Linked DNA regions of Homo sapiens: region 2 is linked to region 1. Evidence: promoter capture Hi-C in human tissues and cell types (Jung and others, 2019). All regions are on one chromosome and are shown on one strand. Each heading gives the region's core, a stretch centred on a gene start or on the middle of the fragment in contact. The rest is flanking DNA. Distances are from core to core; before and after follow the strand shown. Region 1 holds the start of PRRG3 (proline rich and Gla domain 3). Region 2 has its middle 58 kb from the start of PASD1.

What was found. The method cuts DNA at HindIII sites, captures the fragments that hold promoters and counts their contacts. A contact is called where the count stands out against the background at its distance.
Region 2: a contact is called between a fragment that was not itself captured here and the fragment with the promoter of PRRG3 in region 1, in 2 of the 25 tissues and cell types used here (liver and mesendoderm cells).

Annotation. Positions count from the first base shown.
Region 1 is chrX:151,693,489-151,697,952 of GRCh38, forward strand. PRRG3 (proline rich and Gla domain 3) reads left to right here and starts at 1,970. Exons shown (of 4, transcript NM_001372163.1): 1 at 1,970-2,056. The HindIII fragment of the contact is 8,484 bases long and covers 1-2,738 here.
Region 2 is chrX:151,503,492-151,507,598 of GRCh38, forward strand. No RefSeq gene overlaps it. Among named protein-coding and RNA genes, the nearest start is that of PASD1, 58 kb to the right of the region's middle. The HindIII fragment of the contact is 4,683 bases long and covers 491-4,107 here.

The DNA of each region.
Region 1 (4,464 bases), core at 720-3,219:
CTCACAGTAGAGATGTCATGCGCACTGTGTGGGAAGAATGAATGCAAGTGCTCCAGGTCCACAGTGGGAGGAAAGGCATTCTGGGCAGTGGGAAGTAGAAGTAGCCTCATGTGGCTGGAGCCAGAAGCTAAAGTGGGAGTGCCAGAAGGAGGGCAGAAGCCATAGACCCTTGTGCACATACTGGAAGAGCTGCTTTTTTAACAGTCAAGTGCACAAGGGTCTATGCGGTGTTAAGATCACGATGGGAACATGCTGGTGGGCTAGGAAACTCAAGAGGTTAGTTCCAGAAGAGTCTGTGGAATTCTGCCCCACAGGCTCCGGAGGCATGGGGGGAAGGCCATAGAAGAGCTGTCGTGGGTAAGGAAGATTCCTGCAGCCGTGAAATAGCAAGCAAGCTAGGGAAGAACTCTAACAGGAGGCAGAAATGGAAGGGAAAGCACCATGCGGGGAGAGAAGTGTAGAGGCAGGCATCGGGGGAGCTAGGGGAGCCAGGCCCTGGGGGTTGGAGGGGAGGCGGCCGGTGGCAATGAAGGCCTTCGCCCACCCCTCTTCCGCCCCCTGGCAAGGCAGGTTGCTAATACCCGCCCTGGGATAGGGGTGGGAGTGGTTCTGGAACCGCCTTCTGAGACTCATTCCCATCAAAAGCAACACTTGGGGTGGAGGGAGGAAGAGGACGCCAACCCCAGTGCCTGGCCGGGTTCTAGATGTGCAGAGAACAAAAAGGAACCCTAAAAACCCAGCATCCCCTTCTCCGAGGGAGGCTTTCCTAGACCCAGAACCTCAGCCCACCCGGAACCCCTTTGCCCCTCTCTTAGCAGTGGACCTGTCATGTGGTTCCTCCTGGACTAGTGTAATCTCTGCTATGCGTCTTGTCCTGCCATGCTGAACTTCTCACAGTGCGGCCTCCGAAGGAGCCCCCATCTAGCGCTCCTTGCAGTCGCAGAAGATTCCTTCTCCCCTTACTGAGCCTTAGAGTTTTCCAAACCCATTTCCTCCTTCAAATCGCTGCAGCCTCGCGAGGGAGGCAGAATTCTCCCCATTTCTCGGACTTTGCAGGAGAGAAGCCTGCCTTCCCGGGGCAGGGTGGGGGTAGGTAAGTGAAGAAGCCAAGGTCACCCAGTCATTGGCGGAACGCGGCCTCGACTCGGTCCTTCTTCTGAGGGCCCTGTGGATCCCTGGCAAGGCAGGCCTAGGTTGCAGGCTAGCCCCCCTCTCTTTTCGTTGGCCCCAGGAGCCCGGCGGGCCTGAATGGCAGGTGAGCCCGGGGGGTGGGGACAGGACGCGGGTTGGGCTGCGCAGGGACGCCTGGCGCGCGGGCCTTGGGAGCGGCCGCCGGAGCTCCCTGCTACGCCGTATCTTCCGAGGGCCCACGCCTTGGGTCACGACTGGACCAGGGCTTTGACCAAGGGTCCTCTGTGTGCCCCAGGCCCGCCAGTCAGGCCCCGCCCCCCGGCGGCACGGGCGGGGGCAGGGGCGGCGCCGGCAGAGTGGGGCGCGGGCGCGCGGTGCTCGGTGCGCGCCGCCGCCCCTCCGGCCCGGCTTGCCCGCCCGCTCTCCCAACCCCCTCGGCCCACTCCGTCGCCCCCACCCCTCCTTCCTCCACTCGGCCAGGCGGCCGGCGGCCCGGTGCGCGGGGCAGCGCGACGATTGCGGCCTGGCGATCGGGGCACTGCGGTCGTGGCGCGCGAGGCGCGGGGCGCGAGGCCAGCCCTGGAACGGCGGGGTGTGGGGGGCGGGCAGCTGCGGAGCCCCCAGAGGAAAGCAGGGGCAGGCAGGGGGGTGCCGAGGTAATGGGCCGGGCCTGGGCGCCCGGCTGCGAGGGGCGGGGGTTCCAGGCGCACTTCGGCCCTGGAGGGGCGGGCGACAGGGTGCCCGGGGCGGTGGGAGGGCAGCGGGGAGGGGAGGAAGGGAGGGAGGAGACGGCTGGGCCGGACCGGGGGGCTTGGCCGACGGGGAGCAGGTGGGCGGGGACAGGGCCCCTGCTGGAAGAGGCGCAGCAGCGAGGTGGCGGGCTGCGTGCGCAAACAGGGCGGCCGCCTTCTGGGCCCGGAGAACGGTGAGGCCATTTGGGTTGGGTGTCCCAGTCCCGAGGGCACGGTTCGGTATCCAGGGCCAACGAGCTGGGTGCAGGGCATTGTTGAGGAGGGAAGATCTAGAGGCCTGTCCGGGCCAAGGGGATGGGGCGTATTGAACAGCTCCGGGAGAAGAGTGTTGCTGGGTCAGGGCGCTGGTGTCCAGCGAAGGTGGGCGAGGACAGGCACTTTCAGGGCTGGCCTGAGTGGAAAGGGACAAGGGGGCCCCAGAGTTTGAGTTTGAGCATAATTTGGGAGTTGTCGTGTCACTGGGTGGGTCGATGAGTCATGCGATTTGGAGAACCCTTTCCTGGCGATCAGTTCTGAGGGATGGAAATAAAGTCTAGGGTTTGGAGAAGTGGTTTGGAGGCCATGTCTTGGGACACCAGGTGCTCTGGTGGTCACCAGGCTTCATGTGAGGGACTTTGGGAGTTGTGTCCCAGAGGCCTGAGATTCAGAAGCTTCAGTCTGGGGTGGAGTTAAGCAAGGTCTTTGTGGTGGCCAGTTCCCTGCCTTCCTTCCTTTCCAGGCTGTCAGGATTCAGCTGTGTTCCTGCGGGGAGTGGGTTAAAAATTCCTTCCGCCTACAGTCAGCTTTACAGTATCCACCAGGGGCATGGGGGACATATACATGTGTGGCTGCAGCATCATTCTTTGTCGTGGAGCCCTCACGATTGCTTCCTTATTGTTGCCATAGTAACTGTCTACTGATGGTGTATTTATAGGGGAAGAAGCAGGCGCTACATTTTGGGGAGGGAGGGGGAAGAGGCCTCGTGGCAGGCAGCAGCAGCAGTGAAGGTGGCTACAGAATTGCTAATGGAGTGGGCCATGCCATGGGAACTGTTTTGGGGGTGTTCCTGGCTCGACTGAAGCTTAAAAATGAACTGGTGACTTTAGCAGGTGCGTCAGGATAACATGTATTCGGGTCTATGATAGGTGTGACATATAGCCACCTTTGACCAAGGCTAGGTGTGTGGGGGACAAAAGATGGATATATGTAATCTATTATGTAAATTTTTCTCCATTTTTTTAAAAAACCACTGCAGTTTCCTTTGATAAGCATATTTTTCTCTCTTCCCTTATTAAGACTATATGCATTCTTCTCAAACCCAGATACAACAGCTCCATTTTTCTTCAAGCAAAAAATCCTTGCCATGAGGCATACTATATCCACACCCTCACCACATAAAGCTCAGGTATCCATAATGCAAGCAGAATTTTGAGATCATATTCCATCTTGGTTCTGACAAACATTGAGGGCCAACTGTCTCACAAGGCAGGCCATCTGTTGACAAATTCACATGTTGATAGTTTTGAGGGAGATTGTTGCAGGGTTCAAAAGAGAAAGCCCCTTGATGTGGCGTTTCCACAAATAGATGTCAGATCTGCTGTTTTACCTTTAATTTTCTTTTCTTTCTTTTCTCTCTTTCTCTCTTTCTTTCTCTCTTTCTTTCTTTCTTCCTTCCTTCCTCCCTCCCCTTCCCTTCTCCTTCTTTCCTTCCTCCTTCCCTTCCCTTCTCCTTCCTTCCTTCCTTCCTCCCTCCCTCCCTTCCTTCCTCCCTCCCTCCCTCTCTCCCTCCCTCTCTCCCTCTCTCCCTCTCTTTCTCTCTTTCTCTCTTTCTTTCTTTCTGGCTTTGTAACCCAGGCTGGAGTGCAGTGGCGCAATCTCAGCTCACTTCAATCTCCGCCTCTCTGGTTCAAGCGATTCCCCTGTCTCAGCCTCCAGAGTAGCTGGGACTACAGGCATGCACCGCAGCATGCCTAACTAATTTTTGTATTTGTAGTAGAGATGGGGTTTCACCATTTTTTGGTCAAGCCAGTCCCAAACTCCTGACCTGAGGTGATCCGCCCGCCTCAGCCTCCCAAAGTGTTGGGATTATAGGCATGAGCCACCGCGACCAGCCTAAATTATTGATTTATATCCTACCTGTTTGCCAAAAGGATTAGGTGGCATATTATAAATGCACAATAGGACACTGGAAACATAAATAGAAAGCTGTATACCACATCGCAGGACAGAAGCATATGTGCTTAACAGCTGGGCTTCCAGGGTGCCTGTGCTTGACTGGCAATAGTGACGCTGAACTTCCTGGCAGCCTAGGCAAAAAGGAGGGCTCAATGGATTCCACAGTTCACGTGTCTTGCATCCAGTTAGTCATCAAACCAGAGCTTCTGCTTGGGGAGGGGAGCAGTGGGGTGATTGCTCCCAGATGTGGACAGCTCAGCAAGGGCTCTAGAATGTGTGTATGAGTGGGCGTGTGTATTGTGGGGAGGGACAGAGGGAGCAGTGTGCTGTGACCATGGTTTAAGTACTGGCTGGATAGCTCCTTAGCAGGAGAAAGGCTTTCTGACAATAGCTCACATTAGGGGCAACTCTTGTAGTTAGCGTCTCA
Region 2 (4,107 bases), core at 1,582-4,081, 190 kb before region 1:
CACCAAGGCTGGAGTGCAATGGCATGATCTCGGCTCATTGCAGCCTCAACCTCCAGGGCTCAGGTGATCCTCCCACCTCAGCCACCCTGAGTAGCTAGGACTACAAGCGTGCACTATTATGCCTGGCTAATTTTTGTATTTTTGTAGAGATGGGGTTTCAGCCATGGTGCCCAGGCTGGTCTCGGACTCCTGGGCTCAAGCAATCCACCCACCTCAGTCTCCCACAGTGCCAGGATTATAAAGGTAAGCCAACGCACCTAGCTTTCCTCACATTTCTATGTCTTTTTTTTCTACTTTCTTTGTGGACTCCTCTATGTCCATCCAATAAATATTTTTCTAGGACCTACTAGGTGCAAAGTTACATACTAAGTGTTGAGGTAGCAATAGTAAGTAGGAGCCAGTGCCTGCCCTCAGAGTGCACAGCCTAGTGATCTCTTCCCTGGCCTTCCCTTTAAATGTTGGTATCCCCAGGCTTCTGCCTACTGCTCTTCCTGGTTTTTGTACACTGTCCTGTTGGAGCCTAGTCAAATAATTCTCCATGCTTACCCGCAGACTTCTCTTTAGTCTTTGATCAAGTGACTTGTATTTATCCATGGAAGACTTGAACCTATGTTCAAGTGGCAGCCCAAGAAGCAGAATAGATGCATTTTAGCCCTGGCTCTGCCATTCAGTGGTTGTGTGACTTCAGTATGTCCCTTGCTCCCTCTCTGGGCTTTGAGGTCCCATCTATACAAAAAGAGGATAGTATCAGGCAATGTCTTTTTAAGACAGACTGTGATTCTGTTTCCTCAGGCTCTTCTCCAGATTTTTCTTCAGCTTGTTGTTACCCTCAAATTCTGTAAACTTCACGCCACCAATCATATCTCAGAGGTTGAAGGGCACTTACAACTACAAAGTTATGTCCCAGATTTTGGGCCTCTGGCCCAGTGTCTAATCTATTAACCAATGGTCTGTTAACCGGATTATTCTTTAAGGAAGATGTTGAGGCTCCTTCCTTTCTACTACATCGATGAGCGTACCTTGAACCCCTGATGCCAGCCAACCTGAAACATGTCTGCCTCTTCCTGCCTACCTGCCGCCTAAACCCATTCTGTTCCAGAGCTATACAGGTGTACATTGGGAAGGCAGCCCCATTCATCGTCAAGGCTGATATGTCTGCTTCTCCCAGATTACAATCTGTGTCAAAATTAGCTATCCTGCCAAGGGGAAGCTTTTAGCCACCTGGATAGAGATATCTTTGGCCACTTGCTGCTCTGTCCATGTGGTATTTAGCTTTTGTAACATCAGTTTTAATGCTCTACAAGCCATGTCTGCCTTTTCAGTTGGGATCCCAACCAACGAAGAACTCCTCTTTTTTGGGGGGGGGGTGGGGGGATGATTATAAAGATTTATTTGCTATAGCATTTTTTTCCATTTTTAAATTCTTTTTTTTTTATTATTATACTTTAAGTTCTAGGGTACGTGTGCACAATGTGCAGGTTTGTTACATATGTATACATGTGCCATGTTGGTGTGCTGCACCCATTAACTCGTCATTTACATTAGGTATTTCTCCTAATGCTATCCCTCCCCCAGCCTCCCACCCCACGACAGGCCCCAATGTGTGATATTCCCTGCCCTGTGTCCAAGTGTTCTCATTGTTCAATTACCACCTATGAGTGAGAACACGCGGTGTTTGGTTTTCTGTCCTTGCGATAGTTTGCTCAGAATTCCAGAACATTTTCTAACAAAGCCTTAAGATTTCCATTTTTGCAGACATCCAGCTGACTTTGTCCAGGGTTTGAAGTTACCACCTCTAACAGGCTCCGCCCTCAATCCCTGGAGGGTAAAAATAAGGTGATTATTTTCTCATACAGGGATGAAGAAATTGGACTCATCTATTCAAGTGCTTTGGGTTCCCAACTGTGTACCACATTATCAACACTTCTCAAGGGCATCAATTGGAAAGTACCTGCAATGCCGCCCTGTTACAAATGTATTCAGACCTTTCAGTGGAGCAATGCAAGCTAATGAATACATTAACTCCCTCCTCATCAAGTTGTGCTTATTTATTCTGCTGCATTAAGCTCAGACATCAGAGAACAGACTGTCTGAACCTTGTTATCTTCCCAACTGGCAGAAATGCCTCCACCTCCCTCTTTCTGGAGGGTATAGTCCATTCTCCCAGGCTTGATGGTGCCATGAGCAGAAGCAGAGTTGCCATTCATTTGAGGCAGCACTTGCTGAAGTCATAGTACACTCTCATGCAGGTCCCAAGTGAAGACTTCTCAGTTTAATTGAGTTTCAGGACTCATTGGCCTTGGCTGCTGATCAGTCAGCTTTTGCTTTAATTTTTTTTGTTGCCAGAAAACAACCACCACAAAAACCAGTAAATTTCCCTTTGTGCCTTAGCTTCCAGAAAGCTGCCAGCCAAGGTCAATGCCCCATGCAACTCTCTAACACTCTGTCTCCACAGTAGGGAACACGCTCTGCCTTTCTTAGCCTTAATTGCCCCACTGGGCACTGTGTTTTGGCCTCTAGGTGGCCCCAGAGCATCTAAGATGAATGAGAAGAGGCTGAATAATAAATTCATAGGCATTCATAAGGTCTTCAGGAGTCTAGGTCCTACTCAAGTACATTCAAAGCAAGCTTAAAAGGGGTTGTTCCCCAGCTTTCGTGATCTGGCTTCTGTTCACCCTGCAGGCTCATTTTTCTCCAACTTCCCCTTCACTTGCGCCACTTCAGCCACATAAGTCTCGTCTTTTTCCTGTAATACTCCAAGTTCTTTCCTATCCCAGGGCCTTCACTCATGCTGTTCCATTTGCTACCCCACCACCCTCAACCAACATTTGGTAACTCCTACTCCATCCATTAAGAGTAGGAGTTGAATATGATTTAATCAGAGATGATTTAATCTTCTCTGACCTTCCCAAACTGGATGAAGTCCCCCTTCTTATTCTGTTTCATAGAACCCTATACTCTTCTTTGATAGCAACTATCAAAATTTATCATTATTTTTGTAATTTTCTGTTCATTGGATCTCTCCTCTACCAGGCTATAAGCTCTAGGAAGTCAGCAACCATGTTTAGCTTTGTTCTCTGCTGGATTTCTAGTGCCTGGAACATACTAAAGGCTCAATATACACATAGTGAGTGAATGAACAAGTGAATGACTACCCTGGAGGACAGGCAGAAATGTTACTCTTGAAGGTAGACAACTCAAGAGAAACTATTTGAATTTACCACTACATTAGCCAGGCACCTGAGGTGGTCAGGGCTCTTGCAGTTCCATTTCAGTCAGAAGACAGATCATAGGAAACAGTCCCCATTTGAGCTCTGGCACAGAGGCCTGAAATCTAGATTTTTCTTTGAGCTCTTCTACTTACTGGTTTTGTGATCCTAATCAAGCTTTTTGCCTTCTGGGACCTCAGTCTCCTTCTATGACAATACTAATTCTTGTCCTGCTGTGTTAGTCAGGGTTCTCTAGAGGGACTAGAGGGTTCTCTAGTCAGGGTTCTCTCTCTCTCTCTCTCTCTCTCTCTCTCTCTCTCTCTCTATATATATATATATATATATATATATATATATATACACACACACACACACACACACACACACACACACACACACACACACACATATATATACAGGAGTTTATTAAGTATTAACTTCCACGATCACAAGGTTCCACAATAGGCTGTCTGCAAGTTGAAGAGCAAGGGGCGCCACTCTGAGTCCCAAAACTGAAGAACTTGGAGTCCAATATTCGAGGGCTGGAAGCATCTAGCACAGGAGAAAGATGTAGGCTGGGAGAGGCTAGGCCAGTTTCTCCTTTTCATGTTTTTCTGCCTGCATTATATTCGCTGGCAGCTGATTAGATTGTGCCCATCAGATTAAGTGTGGATCTGCCTTCCCCAGCCCACTGACTCAAATGTTAATCTCTTTTGGCAACACCCTCACAGACACATCCAGGATCAATAATTTGTATCCTTCAATCCAATCAAGTTGACACTCAGTATTAACCAAACACCTGCTTACCACACAATACTGATGTAATAAATAAGACAAGATATATCCTGTAGCACTTTGTCAGCAGTGAAGCACTGTACATTTGTGAAGAATGGCTGCC